Regions from separate parts of the Homo sapiens genome. Here region 1 is linked to region 2. The links are contacts of gene promoters, found by promoter capture Hi-C in blood cells and fetal thymus (Javierre and others, 2016). All regions are on one chromosome and are shown on one strand. Each heading gives the region's core, a stretch centred on a gene start or on the middle of the fragment in contact. The rest is flanking DNA. Distances are from core to core; before and after follow the strand shown. Region 1 overlaps LUC7L3 (LUC7 like 3 pre-mRNA splicing factor). Region 2 holds the start of LRRC59 (leucine rich repeat containing 59).

Region 1 (6,964 bases), core at 4,294-6,793, 330 kb before region 2:
TGGCTTAAGCTCAGGAGTTCGAGACCAGCCCGGGCAACGTGGCAAGACCCCATCTCCACCAATACAAAAAAATTAGCCAGGGGTGGTGCGGGCCTATAGTCCCAGCTACTCAGGAGGCTGGAATGGGAGGAGCCTGCTCAAGCAGTGGGAGGACTGCTAGAGCCCAGGAGGTGGAAGCTGCAGTGAGCTGAGATTGTGCCACTGCACTCCAGCCTGGGTAACAGAGCCAGACACTGTCCCCACCTCCCCACCCCCAAAATACATACATATATATATATATATATATATATATATATATATATATATATATATATAATGTATTTATATTCAATATATACTTCTGATTATCTAAACACTGGCAACACAACTCATGTTGGAAACAGTAAAACTGACAGGGACTTAAATTTTAAAAATCTAAATAGCCAATCCTAATTACTATATACAGTAAGTCCTTGAATAATGTGATGAGGGGAAAAAAAATTATTCCCAGCTGGGGCTAACTGTGTAGGAGTCTGCAAGTTCTCCCCATGTCTGTATGGGTTTTCTCCCAGTACTCTGGTTTCCTTCCACATCCCAAAGCTGTGCACGGTAGGTGAACTGGCATGCCTAAGTCCCAGTCTGGGTGAGTGTGGGTGTGTGAGTATGCCCTGTGATGGGAGGGGATCTTGTCCAGGGTTAGTTCCTGCCTTGCATCCTGGGCAGCCGGGATCAGCTCTGGCCACCCACCACCCTGAACTGGAATAAGGAGGCTGGAAAGGAATGAATATATTGTATATTACAATGAAATTATTGTAAAATAAAAGTCTGTAAAGCATATGATAATCATACAAATGCATGAAAATAAACAGCATAGTCCAAAAGTGGTGAGTTTACCATCTTTATTATTGTGTTGGAACTGAATGGAGGTAGGAGGTGCTTCTGACAATGTTCAAGTTGTAAACATTTATTCCTTGACTTAACTCACCACCACTAAAATTGCCATCACTCACTGATTCACCAAAAACTGGGTAATTACCTCGCTTTTATTCATCTTTCTTAAATGTATGTATACCTCAAATTTATCTCAATGTTTGATATCAGAAATGTTTTGGGTCTTTTTAGTTATGTTTCTGTAACCAGAATGTGCCACAGAAACCTAACTCTTCTTTATATTAACTAGTCTATGGTAAAACTTTTGTTATATGTCATTTCAACTGAAGTCATAGTTTCCAAGAACCCATTAACGACGTTAAATGCAGACTTACTGTATTCTGAAACAGGACATATTACTGGAATACCTCAAATGCCATACACATACAAATATTAATTTAAAATCCAGGAATACCTGGAAATTTTATTGGTTAAAAAAAAGGAACACAAGCCAGCTGCAGTGGCTCACACCTGCAATCCTAGCACTTTGGGAGGCCGAGGCAGGCAGATCACTTGAAGCCAGGAGTTTGAGACCTGCCTGGCCAAAATGGCGAAACGCCGTCTCTACTAAAAATACAAAAATTAGCCAAGCATGGAGGCACACGCCTGTAGTTCCAGCTACTCGGGAGACTGAGGCACGAGCATCGCTTGAACCTGGGAAGCGGAGGTTTGCAGTGAGCTGAGATCGCGCCACTGCACTCCGGCCTAGACAACAGATCAAGACTCTGTCTCCAAAAAAACAAAAACAAAAACCAACCCTACACGCTGTAGTCTTTTGTCACTTCTGCCTCAATATTAATAGTTTAATTCTGATTATGACAGTCTATAAATATTTTTTTTTACCTAAGAGTTCAATTCACTGTGTTAAAGATAAACCCCCAAAGAAATAATTTTTAATAAAAGAATTTATAACAAAAATTATGTCCCTGATAACATATAGCTTTATGTTTCAGTTATACCACGACCACACATTCATTTCCATGCCTTTAATTTTATTACGTATACCTTTGCAGGTATGATTCACTATTTATTGCCTACACAAACTTCTAGTAAAATTTCAATCAATCTTCCACAGCAGCCAGTTAGTAAACATCTCTCTTCTGCTTAGAAGCCTTCAGTTATTTCCCAATGTAATAAAATCTAAACTTTCAACAAGGCTTATAAAAACTTTTTTTTTTTTTTTTTTGAGACAGATCTCGCTCTGTCGCCCATGCTGGAGTGCAGTGGCGCGATCTCGGCTCACTGCAAGCTCCGCCTCCCGGGTTCACGCCATTCTCCCGTCTCAGCCTCTCGAGTAGCTGGGGCTACAGGCGCCTGCCACCACACCACGCCCAGCTAATTTTTTTTTTTTTTTGTATTTTTAGTAGAGATGGGGTTTCACCATGTTAGCCAGGATGGTCTCGATCTCCTGACCTCGTGATCCACCATCTCTGCCTTCCAAAGTATTGGGATTACTGGCGTGAGCCACCACGCCCGGCCTATAAAAACTATTTAAAACCAAGTTCTTGCCTACCTATCTACACTACCCCACCCAACAAAAACATACACACTACAATACTATTTAAAATTTGCCAAATTCACCGATTTTTCTCCAGCTCTTCCTTCAGGCTGGTAAGGTGTCTTCTCTCTCCTCTCCCTCAGGCTAATTCCTGCCAATCCTTTAGGTAAATGTATTTAAAGACCACTTTGTCTGACAGGCCTTTCCTGAGTATCCATCCCAATCTGGGTTATGCACTCCTTTCCTGTGTACACTATACAGCTGACCTTTGAACTCGGGGGGCTGGGGCACTGCTATGGTTTGGATGTGGTTTCTTTGGTCCCAAAAAAAACATTCTTGTGGGAGTGAATTCCCATTCTTAGTTGACTGGAAAATTGGTTGTTGAACAGAGCCTGGCACTCTAGCCATGTGATCTTTGCGCATGCTAGCTCCCCTTCTGCCATGAGTGGAAGCAGTCTGGGACCCTCACCAGATAGGTACCAGCTACAATGCTTCTTGTACAGTCTGGGGAACTGAACTAAATAAACCTCTTTTCTTTATAATTATCCAACCTCAGGTATTCCTTTATAACAACTAAGAGAGTTACTGACCCTAACTCCCCTAAAACCTAACTATCAAAAGCCTACCACTGACTGGAAGCCTTACAATAACACTAACAGTTGGTTAACACGTATTTTGTATATTATTTGTATTATATACTGTATTCTTTTTTTTTTGAGACAAAGTCTCGCTCTGTCAGCCAGGCTGGAGTGCGGTGGCATGATCTCGGCTCACTGCAACCTCCGCCTCCCGGGTTCAAGAAATTCTCCTGCCTCAGCCTCCTGAGTAGCTGGGATTACAAGCACCGGCCACAACGCCTGGCTAATTTTTGTATTTTTAGTAGAGACAGGGTTTCACCATGTTAGCCAGGCTGGTCTCCAACTCCTGACCTCAAGTGACCGCCCACCTCGGCCTCCCAAAGTGCTGGGATTAAAGACGTAAGCCACCGTGCCTGGCTATATACTGTATTCTTACAATAAAGTAAGCTAGAGATGTGCACTGTAGAATGTTTAGGGAAAAAAATAACTATAAGTAAGCTAGAGAAAAAAATGTGAAAACACATTTACAGTGCTGTATTTATCAATACCCTAAGTTTAGGTCATCTGTATACAAAAGATGAATTGTCTCAAATGCCAGCAACCCCAGGTGCAGATCTCAGTCTATCGTACATATCAAGCAATTTAACTTCTTGTACTGTCATGACTTTTCTGCTTCTTCGGAGCACTTCCAATGTCACTAGCTGCACTTCGTATGGGTCTCAGGGCGTTATTCAAAGGTCATGGTATTGTACATAGGCCAGGCGCTGTGGCTTACACCTCTAATCCCAGCACTTTGGGAGGCCAAGGTGGGCGGATCACTTAAGGCCAGGAGTTCGAGCCCAGCCTGGCCAACATGACAAAACCCCATCTCTACTAAAAATACAAAACTTAGCCAGACATGGTGGTACACGGCTGTAATCCCAGCTACCTGGGAGGCTGAGGTATGAGAACTGCTTGAACCTGGGAAGCAGAGGTTGCAGTGAGCCGAGATGGCACCACTGCACTCCAGCCTGGGCGACAGAGCAAGACTGTCTCAAAAACAACAACAACAAAAAGCAAAACAACAAGTTTATACGGTATTGCAATAAACAATGATGAAAATACACAAGAACCAAGGGATAATTTTTTACTGTGATATGCAATTTACTTTAGACACCAACTGCTCATGCAGAGATTATCAAGAGTCACAGGTCATAGGGCATTTTAAGTGGAGCCTGGCAACACTTGAGCTCACTGTAATAGCAACAGGTGGCTACAAAATTATTACAGTATTACAGTATGTACTATAGTTAATTTTATGCAGTTATTACTCAAGCTTTACTTTCTCTGGACTGCTAGTGGCACCATGTACTGTGTGCATAAGTTTTTATAAAGTTTAACTTTTTATGATTCGTATGTATTTTGTGGTAGGAAAATGATAAACTAGTATATACATCTATTTTATGTATTTGTGATGTACTTATCTTTTCTTAAATTTTAAAAATATTTCTAAGCTATGTGATTCGTCTTCAAGTTTTTTCAAATTGTTGCAAATCTCCAAAAAATGTTCCAATATATTTATTGAAAAAACTCCACGTATAAATGGACACACTCAACTCAAACCCGTGTTGTTCAAGGGTCAATTTTACTTTTCCCAATGGTAGGATTTATCATATTCTGTTATGGAAATGCGTTTACATTCAATTGGAATAATCCCCATTGGAAAAAAAAAGTGCATTTACTGTCACCAATACATGATGGCTCTTTAGGACCAAGTGCTGTATCTGTACTATCCTGCTGTTATCTACCTAAGAGCAATACTTTTAATTTTTTTTTTGAAATGGAGTCTTGCTCCTGTCACGCAGGCTGGAATGCAGTGGCGTGATCTCGGCTCACTGCAACCTCCACCTCCCGGGTTCAAGCGATTCTCCTTCCTCAGCCTCCCGAGTAGCTGGGATTACAGGCGTGCGCCACCACACCTGGCTAATTTTTGTATTTTTAGTAGAGACAGGGTTTCGCCATGTTGGCCAGGCTGGTCTCAAACTCCTGAGCTCAGGTGATCCACCCGCCTCAGCCTCGCAAAGTGCTAGGATTACAGGCGTGAGCCACCGCTCCCAGCCGAGCAATACATTTTTGTTGGATAAATGAATACAACAATTTTCCTAACTTACTATAAGAAATGAAGAGAAAGGCTGGGCATGGTGGCTCACCCCTGTAATCCCAGCACTTTGGGAGGCCGAGGGAGGATCACTTGTTGTCAAAAGTTCAAGACCAGCCCGGCAAACATGGTGAAACCCCATCTCTACAACAACACAAAAATTAGTCAGGCATGGTGGCATGCACCTGTAATTCCACCTACTCTGGAGGCTGAGGCAGGAGAATCGCTTGAACCCGGGAGGTGGAGGTTGCAGTGAGCTGAGATCACACCACTGCACTCCAACCTGGGCAACAGAGCAAGACTCCATCTCGGGGGTAAAAAAAAAAAAAAAAAGAGAAAATATTTCATAAAACGAAGAACTGTATTAGCAAAAAAGTCAAATTTACAAACTTAAGCTACCTTCTCCTTTTGTGAGGAAATCAAGGCTAATAACATATATAATGACACACACACACACACACACACACACACACACACAATTTTCCTAAAGCAACCAAAGATTTACGAAATACCTTACTATAATTTTCAGTGATTATGGTATTGTGGTTATTTTATTCTATTTTTTTTTTGAGACAGAGTGTCACTCTGTTGCCCAGGCTGGACTGTGGTGGCACCATCTCGGCTCACTGCAACCTCTGCCTCCTGGGTTGAAAGGATCCTCCTGCCTCAACCTCCAGAGTAGCTGGGATTACAGGAATGCACCACTACGCCCAGCTAATTTTTTTATTTTTTATTAGAGACAGGGTTTCACCATGTTGGCCAGGCTGGTCTCGAACTCCTGGCCTCAAGTGATCTGCCTGCCTTGGCCTCCCAATGTTGAGATTACAGGTGACCCACCATGCCCGGTCGGCTATGTTTTTTTTTTAAAGTCCTTGTATTTTACAGATATACAATGACCGCTTTAAGGTTGACAATAACAGAATTGCTTCAAAATAATGGAAGGGATACAGAGGAAATAATATTGACTATGTGCTAATATTGCTAAATTGGGCATGGGTACATGGGGAGTTCAATTTATTATACTATTCACTCTAATTCTGTATGTTTTGGGAAGAAAAGCAAATAGCAATTACATACACATATAACACATGGACTGCTGGCAATTCTGAGAAGCCAACACTTACTATTTTACTATGGAGTAAGGTAGGAAATGCCAGCCGGGCGCAGTGGCTCACGCCTGTAACCTCAGCACTTTGGGAGACTGAGGCGGACCGATCACTTGAGGTCAGGAGTTCAAGACCAGCCTGGCCAATATGGCAAAACCCTGTCGACTAAAAATACAAAAATTAGCCGGGCGTGGTGGCCCACACCTGCAATCCCAATTACTCGGGACGCTGAGGCCAGGAGGTGGAGGTTGCAGTGAGCCAAGATCATGCCACTACACTCCAGCCTGGGTGACAGAGCTAGACTCTGTCTCAAAAAAAAAAAGGGGGGGGGGCAGGGAGCAGGGTAGAAAATGCTTTTCTATCTTACTCCATAGTAACATAGTAAGTTACTATGAACATTTTGGTGACTCTGAATGAAAACTAGTAAAATACATATTAATAGATGCCATCATGCATTATAATTACTAGTTTTTTGCTTTCAATTTTTGCTCCCAAATTCTGAACATTTTTAAAGCAAAAAGAAAAAGTATACAAGTAAAAAATGTGGACAGAAGCTTTAGCTATTTTTCCTTTTCTAAACAACTTTTCAGTGTCAATGACAGTATCTGCTAACATTCCAAAGATTTTAGAAAAGAACATAGTTCAATTTCCTTCATAAATTATTAAACCTTCATGTTAAACCTTCATGGAAGGAAGGGTAGGCTTGAGTTTGATAAATGGAAGAAAACTCATTTCA
Region 2 (6,481 bases), core at 2,147-4,646:
GCTTGACCATTGAGGGCCAGGAGGTTAACTGTCTCCTGGAAACTGGCGTGGCCTTCTCAGTCTTACTCTCCTGTCCCGGACAACTGTCCTCCAGATCTGTCACTATCCGAGGGGTCCTAGGACAGCCAGTCACTAGATACTTCTCCCAGCCACTAAGGTGTGACTGGGGAACTTACTCTTTTCACATGCTTTTCTAATTATGCCTGAAAGCCCCACTCCCTTGTTAGGGAGAGACATTCTAGCAAAAGCAGGGGCCATTATACACTAGAATTAGGAGAAGGGAAAAGGGTAAATATATATACAGACTCAAAGTATGCTTACCTAGTCCTCCGTGCCCATGCAGCAATATGGAGAGAAAGTGAATTCCTAACTTCCAAGGGAACACCTATCAAACATCAGGAAGCCATCAGGAGATTATTATTGGCTGTATAGACACCTAAAGAGGTGGCAGTCTTACACTACCGGGGTCATCAGAAAGGAAAGGAAAGGAAAGAAGAAATAGAAGGGAACCGCCAAGTGGATATTGAAGCCAAAAGAGCCGCAAGGCGGGACCCTCCATTAGAAATGCTTATAGAAGAACCCCTAGTATGGGGTAATCCCCTCCAGGAAACCAAGCCCCAGTACTCAGCAGGAGAAATAGAATGGGGAACCTGACGAGGACATAGTTTCCTCCCCTCAGGATGACTAGCCACTGGAGAAGGAAAAATACTTTTGCCTGCAGCTAACCAATGGAAATTGCTTAAAACCCTTCACCAAACCTTTCACTTAGGCATTGATAGCACCCATCAGATGGCCAAATTATTATTTACTAGACAGGCCTTTTCAAAACTATCAAGTAGATAGTCAGGGCCTGTGAAGTGTGCCAAAGAAATAATCCCCTACACTACAGGCCATACATTTCAATCCCTGTATCTTTAACCTCCTTGTTAAGTTTGTCTGTTCCAGAATCGAAGCTGTAAAACTACAAATGGTTCTTTAAATGGAGCCCCAGATGCGGTCCATGACTAAGATCTACCGTGGACCCCTGGACCAGTCTGCTAGCCCATGCTGTGATGTTGGTGACATCAAAAGCAACCCTCCCGAGGAAATCTCAACTGCACAACCCCTACTATGCCCCAATTTAGCAGGAAGCAGTTAGAGCGGTCATCGGCCAACCTCCCCAACAGCACTTGGGTTTTCCTGTTGAGGGGGGCACTGAGAGACAGGACTAGCTGGATTTCCTAAGCCAACTAAGAATCCCTAAGCCTAGCTGGGAAGGTGACCGCATCCACCTTTAAACATGGGGCTTGCAACTTAGCTCGCACCTGATCAATCAGGTAGTAAAGAGAGCTCACTGAAATGCTAATTAAGCAAAAACAGGAGGTAAAGAAATAGCCAATCATCTATCGCCTGAGAGCACAGGAGGAGGGACAATGATCGGGATATAAACCCAGGCATTCGAGCCGGCAACAGCAACCCCCTTTGGGTCCCCTGCCATTTTATGGGAGCTCTGTTTTCACTCTATTAAATCTTGCAACTGCACACTTTTCTGGTCCGTGTTTGTTACGGCTTGAGCTGAGCTTTTCCTTACCGTCCACTACTGCTGTTTGCTGCTGTCGCAGACCCGCTGCTGACTTCCACCCCTCTGGATCTGGCAGGGTGTCTGCTGGGCTCCCGATCCAGTGAGGCGCCCATTGCTGCTCTGGATCAGGCTAAAGGCTTGCCATTGTTCCTGCGTGGCTAAGTGCCTGGATTTGTCCTAATTGAGCTGAATAGAGCTATAACACTCATTGCATGGCCCAAGATTCCATTCCTTGGAATGCGTGAGGCCAAGAAACCCAGGTCAGAGAACAAGAGGCTTGCCGCCATCTTGGAAGTGGCCCGCCACCATCTTGGGAGTTCTAAGAACAAGGACCCCTGCCACCCACCCCCCGTAACAATTGCACTTACTTTATTTGGTGTTCATAGTTTCCCTCTGAGACAAGATTTTTTATTTTTTATTTTTTTAGAGATGGGGTCTTGCTATGTTGCCCAGACTGGTTTTGAACTCCTAGCCTCAAATAATCCTCTCATCTTGGCCTCCCAAGTATTGGGATTACAGGTGTGAGCTATCCTGCTCGGCCCCTCTGAGATAAGCTTTAATATCCCTATTTCAAAATGAGTAAACTGAGGTTTGGAGTGGGTAAAGTGCTTCCTTCCTTCATTCATTCATTCATTCATCCATCCATCTATTCATTTATTCAACAGACATCTGAATGAGTAGCTACCCTGCATCAGGGTATGCCAACTCTGGGCATACGAAGATGATTAAGACAAAAATCCCTGTCCTCACAGTCCAGAATGAAGGACAGACACATAAAGATGAGTATAATACAAGGTGGATCATGAATTGTAGCTAATATTTATTGGGTACTTACTAAGTGCCAGTGACTGCTGTAAGCTCTTGGTGTGTTTTACTCCTTCAGTTCTCCCCAACCTCTGTTAGCTACATGTCTCATAGATTGATTCATAGATAAGACTGAAGCCTGGTGATTGTCTACGGTTTTATAAGTAGCAAGTGGCAGAGCCAGGATGAATACCCAGTGGATAGGTATTAGTGCCAGAGGTCCCACTTGGCCATCAAGCTCTACTGTCTCTGATGATAAAGTAGCAAACAGGGACCTAAGTTGGTTGGGGGGGGCGCTAACTCAGTCTGGCATTCACGGTGTTCAGGGGAGATTTCCTGAAGGACTAAGGAATTAGCTAGACAGAGGTGAGTGGGGGGGAGGGAGGGCCATCGCTGGGGAGGGCCAGACGTGGGAGCCACCTCCTGGAAATCTACACAGCATCTAGGCCAGGCAGGGACTGGAGCGTGTGAGGAAGCTGCGAAAGCAGGCAGGACCCAGCTTCCAAAGGAAAGTGGTCCGTATCCTAGAGGTAGCTGCAAGTTTGAAGGGTTTTACGTAGGGGAGAGACTTGGCCAGATTTTTAGAAAGATCACCGGGGAGCTGGGTGAAAGTGGATGGAAGGACAGAGACAAGCACTGAGGCAGTGAGTGGGGAGGAGAGAGGAGAAATTCAGGAAGAAGAGTTTTCCCCATGATGGTTATTCGGGGGTTAAGTAGAGGACAGGGAGCAGTTTTAGAGGACACCCAGCTTCTGCTCCTAATCAGGGGGATTGGGGTGATCTGATGAGGTCAGTATTGGATGTCAACCCAGTCTTCTGGCGCCCAGTCCGTGCCCTTTCGCCTCGTGGCACTGCCAGCAATAATGCCCGCGGGCCACGGGTGAACGTGAACCGAGCTCGCAGCCTCCAACCCCACCCCTCCGGCGGCGGCGACGTGCAGTGCATCACCCTGGGCACCAGGGGGCGTGCCCGCACACGCTCGGGCCGCTCTGGCCCAGCCCATCTCAGTGGTCGCGGAAGGTGACGTGGACACGGAAGTGGTCGTCGTCGCGGCACCGGTGGGAGCTAGGCGCGAGGCTCGGAGTGCGGCCAGCGGGCGGAGGCGGTCTCGCATCGGCGGCGACGGAGGGCTCAGGCGTCGTCGTTTGGGTGGGGGGCCGCTGAACTGACAAGCGACATTTCAGCTCCTTTCACCCGCCGGAACCCCGGAGCCGGGGCCCGCTCAGCCGGCGTTACCATGACCAAGGCCGGTAGCAAGGGCGGGAACCTCCGCGACAAGCTGGACGGCAACGAACTGGACCTGAGCCTCAGCGACCTGAATGAGGTCCCGGTGAAGGAGCTGGTCAGTATCGTCCCGCGAGGCCCAGGCGCCCACCTTCGCCGGGCGCTGGCCCCTACGTGGGCCACTTACTTTCCTCTTCTCTAAAAGCATCAGTTTCCTTTTCTTTAAAAAGAAGCGGGGTGGTGGGACTAAGTCCCCTAGGAGGCCGCGTCCAGCCCAAGGTTCTTCCCGGGATGTACACGTGTCACTTTGGCGCAGTTCCAGAACATAGGGAAGATCTGCTTCTCTGGCCCTAGGCTTTTTACAGGCTAAGAAGCGAATCTGTCACCTTTGCGGGGCTTTCACAGCGCCCACCTCCGTGCCCGACTCTGAGTAGGAGCACACGGAGCAGTTACTGGATGTATTCGAGAATGAATGAGTGACTTGTTCCAGGGGAGTAGGCCTCCTGGTAGACCTGGGTGTGGCCCAGAACCTGGCTCTTCTAGGAAGCTGGCAATTCCAGCTGGCTGCCCGAGCCCTGAGGCAGCCTAACTCGAAGAAAGTAAAGTCTCCCCCCAGCTTGGCTGGTAAACTGTCATCTGAATTCCGCTGAAACTGGCGGGAGTCCCTTTCGCCCCTCTCTCCCCCAACCTTTCCCCTGTAAACTGAAGCTTACAGCTCCAGAGAGATAGCAGGCATCTAGTTTTGTCAGCGTGGAGCTAGTTCCCACATCCCTCCTTTTCCCACTCCGTTCCCCCTCCCACCCGCGCCAACGCCCTACTAGACTCACTTTGGGTGACCCACACTTTGCTTTCTGCCGTTGATAAATTACATTTGCCTTGGGCGCTGGGCCCAGTCTTTCTTCCACCGTGGACGGGTATTACAGTGGTTAGAACCGGGTTCCTAGCTCCTCCCAGCTCCATTGCTTAATAGCCGAGTGCCCTTGGCAAGCTAGTTAGCCTTTATGCCTAGATCTCCTCATCTATACAATGGTGATAATAGTTTCCATCTCATACGCTTATTGGGAGGTTAAATACCATTGTAATGGAAAATGCTTGGAAGGAGCAAATACTGATACTTGTAGCTGTTGTTGTGTTTTTCCCGCTGTAGTATTTAAAACTTTTTTAGGTGGTCAAACTTCACTTTTACGACTTTGTGACAGAAAGTGCAGGTTGCCAGAGGATCCTTAACTGAATATATGCCTCCTTTTCTACCCCAGGAAGATAGATGGCCAGCCTTATTTCACCCTGCCCTAGGACTGCTCTCTGAAACCATATACTCCAGGCATCTGAACAGTCCAGCATTAACCTTAGGGAGAAAGTTTTGCTGAGCTTGTCCAGCCTGGACACCATGGGAAAATAGAGATGGGCTGTGAGGGCCTTTTTTTTTTTTGGATGATGGAGTTTTGCTGTTGTTGCCCAGGAGTGATCTCGGCTCACTGAAACCTCTGCCTCCCGGGTTCAAGCGATTCTCCTGCCTCAGCCTCCCGAGTAGCTGGGATTACAAGCGTGTGCCACCATGCCTGGCTAATTTTCTATTTTTAGTAGAGACAGGGTTTCTCCGTGTTGGTCAGGCTGGTCTCGAACTCCTGACTTCAGGTGATTGCCTGCCTCAGCCTCCCAAAGTGGTGGGATTACAGGCGTGAGCCACCGCACCCGGCAGGGCCTTGTTTTTTCACTCTGTCATTCACTCCGCTACTTACTCGATCAGTCATGATTCAGGCAACATGTATGGATATTGAGTACCTGTTCTGAGGAAGGGCCTGAACTGGGGAATATGGAAATTGCAAAGCTTTATTAGACACTGTCCCTGCCCTGAAACCTAATAAGAGGGACGCTGGGTAATATTTATTTTTAAAGTGCTAGGAATAATGTCTAAGAATCTAAATTTTGCTTGCCTGCCTGCCTGCCTGCCTTCCTTTCTTTTTTTTTTTTTTTGAGATGGGGTCTCACTGTGTTGTGCAGGCCGGCCTCAAACTCCTGAACTCCTGGGCTCAAGCGATCCTCCTGTCTCAGCTTTCTGAGTAGCTGAGACTATGAGACTACAGGTGTGAGTCCCTGTGCCTCGCCTAAGGTTTACCTTCTTGGAGGTTGTACAGCCACATCCCTTCTCTTTGCATTCTTCCTTAGATCATGGTTGACTGGCTTATTTTTCCTCTTATTCCCAGGAACATTACTCTTTACTGCCATTTTAAAAGGCCTTTCCTAATCATGGGAACATTCTCTGGAAAATGCTTCATTAACATATGTCAGTGAATTGTTCCAGATGTTGGTCTGACATGTTTTTCTCATCCTCTTTTACCTAGGCTGCCCTTCCAAAGGCCACCATCCTGGATCTGTCTTGTAATAAACTGACTACTCTACCGGTAAGATTGGCATGCAGCCGTGACTCCTTCTGGTGCCTTGGATGCATCTCCTTCCTGTTTCGGGGGTTGAGAGGGGGGTGGGAGGGTGTCATAAGGTGTAATTTCAGGATAGGCCTACAGGCAGGCTATAGCTAAATCTGAGTGTGTAGGGGAGGCACAGTGGAATGGAGTGGTTGGTCTCAGTGGGAAAGGAATTGAGATGGAGGCCTCATTCTTCAGAACAGTGGTAAAGTCAGTCCACAGAAAACTAAACTCAACAGGGTGCTGAGTAACTTACTGGGCTCATCTTTTTTCTACATTATTTTATTCCTCTGAAAAATAGTTTACCTCCCTACTGCATAGAGGATGCTAGAGACCATTTTGTAAGTTGCTCTGCGTTCCAGGGAGAAAGCTGTGAACAGCTTCCTTGTGCATCTTTTGATGGGGAGCAAGAAAGAAGGTGATTTTATGGGCTACCTTATCATTATTCTCCCAAAGGACTTGAATTAGTT

The links. The method cuts DNA at HindIII sites, captures the fragments that hold promoters and counts their contacts. A CHiCAGO score of 5 or more calls a contact.
Region 1: a contact is called between a fragment that was not itself captured here and the fragment with the promoter of LRRC59 in region 2, in 1 of 17 cell types (erythroblasts). The highest score is 6.6, in erythroblasts.

Annotation. Positions count from the first base shown.
Region 1 is chr17:50,723,248-50,730,211 of GRCh38, reverse strand. All of the region lies in intron 1 of LUC7L3 (LUC7 like 3 pre-mRNA splicing factor), which reads right to left. Among named protein-coding and RNA genes, the nearest start is that of LUC7L3, 7.1 kb to the right of the region's middle. RefSeq lists an enhancer at 4,777-5,276. The HindIII fragment of the contact is 2,482 bases long and covers 4,303-6,784 here.
Region 2 is chr17:50,394,438-50,400,918 of GRCh38, reverse strand. It overlaps LRRC59 (leucine rich repeat containing 59), which reads left to right and starts at 3,396. Exons shown (of 7, transcript NM_018509.4): 1 at 3,396-3,706; 2 at 5,931-5,990. The coding sequence starts at 3,602. It overlaps LRRC59-AS1 (LRRC59 antisense RNA 1), which reads right to left and starts at 5,995. Exons shown (of 2, transcript NR_199069.1): 1 at 5,927-5,995; 2 at 2,362-3,703. RefSeq lists a silencer at 3,350-3,419. The HindIII fragment of the contact is 2,181 bases long and covers 2,118-4,298 here.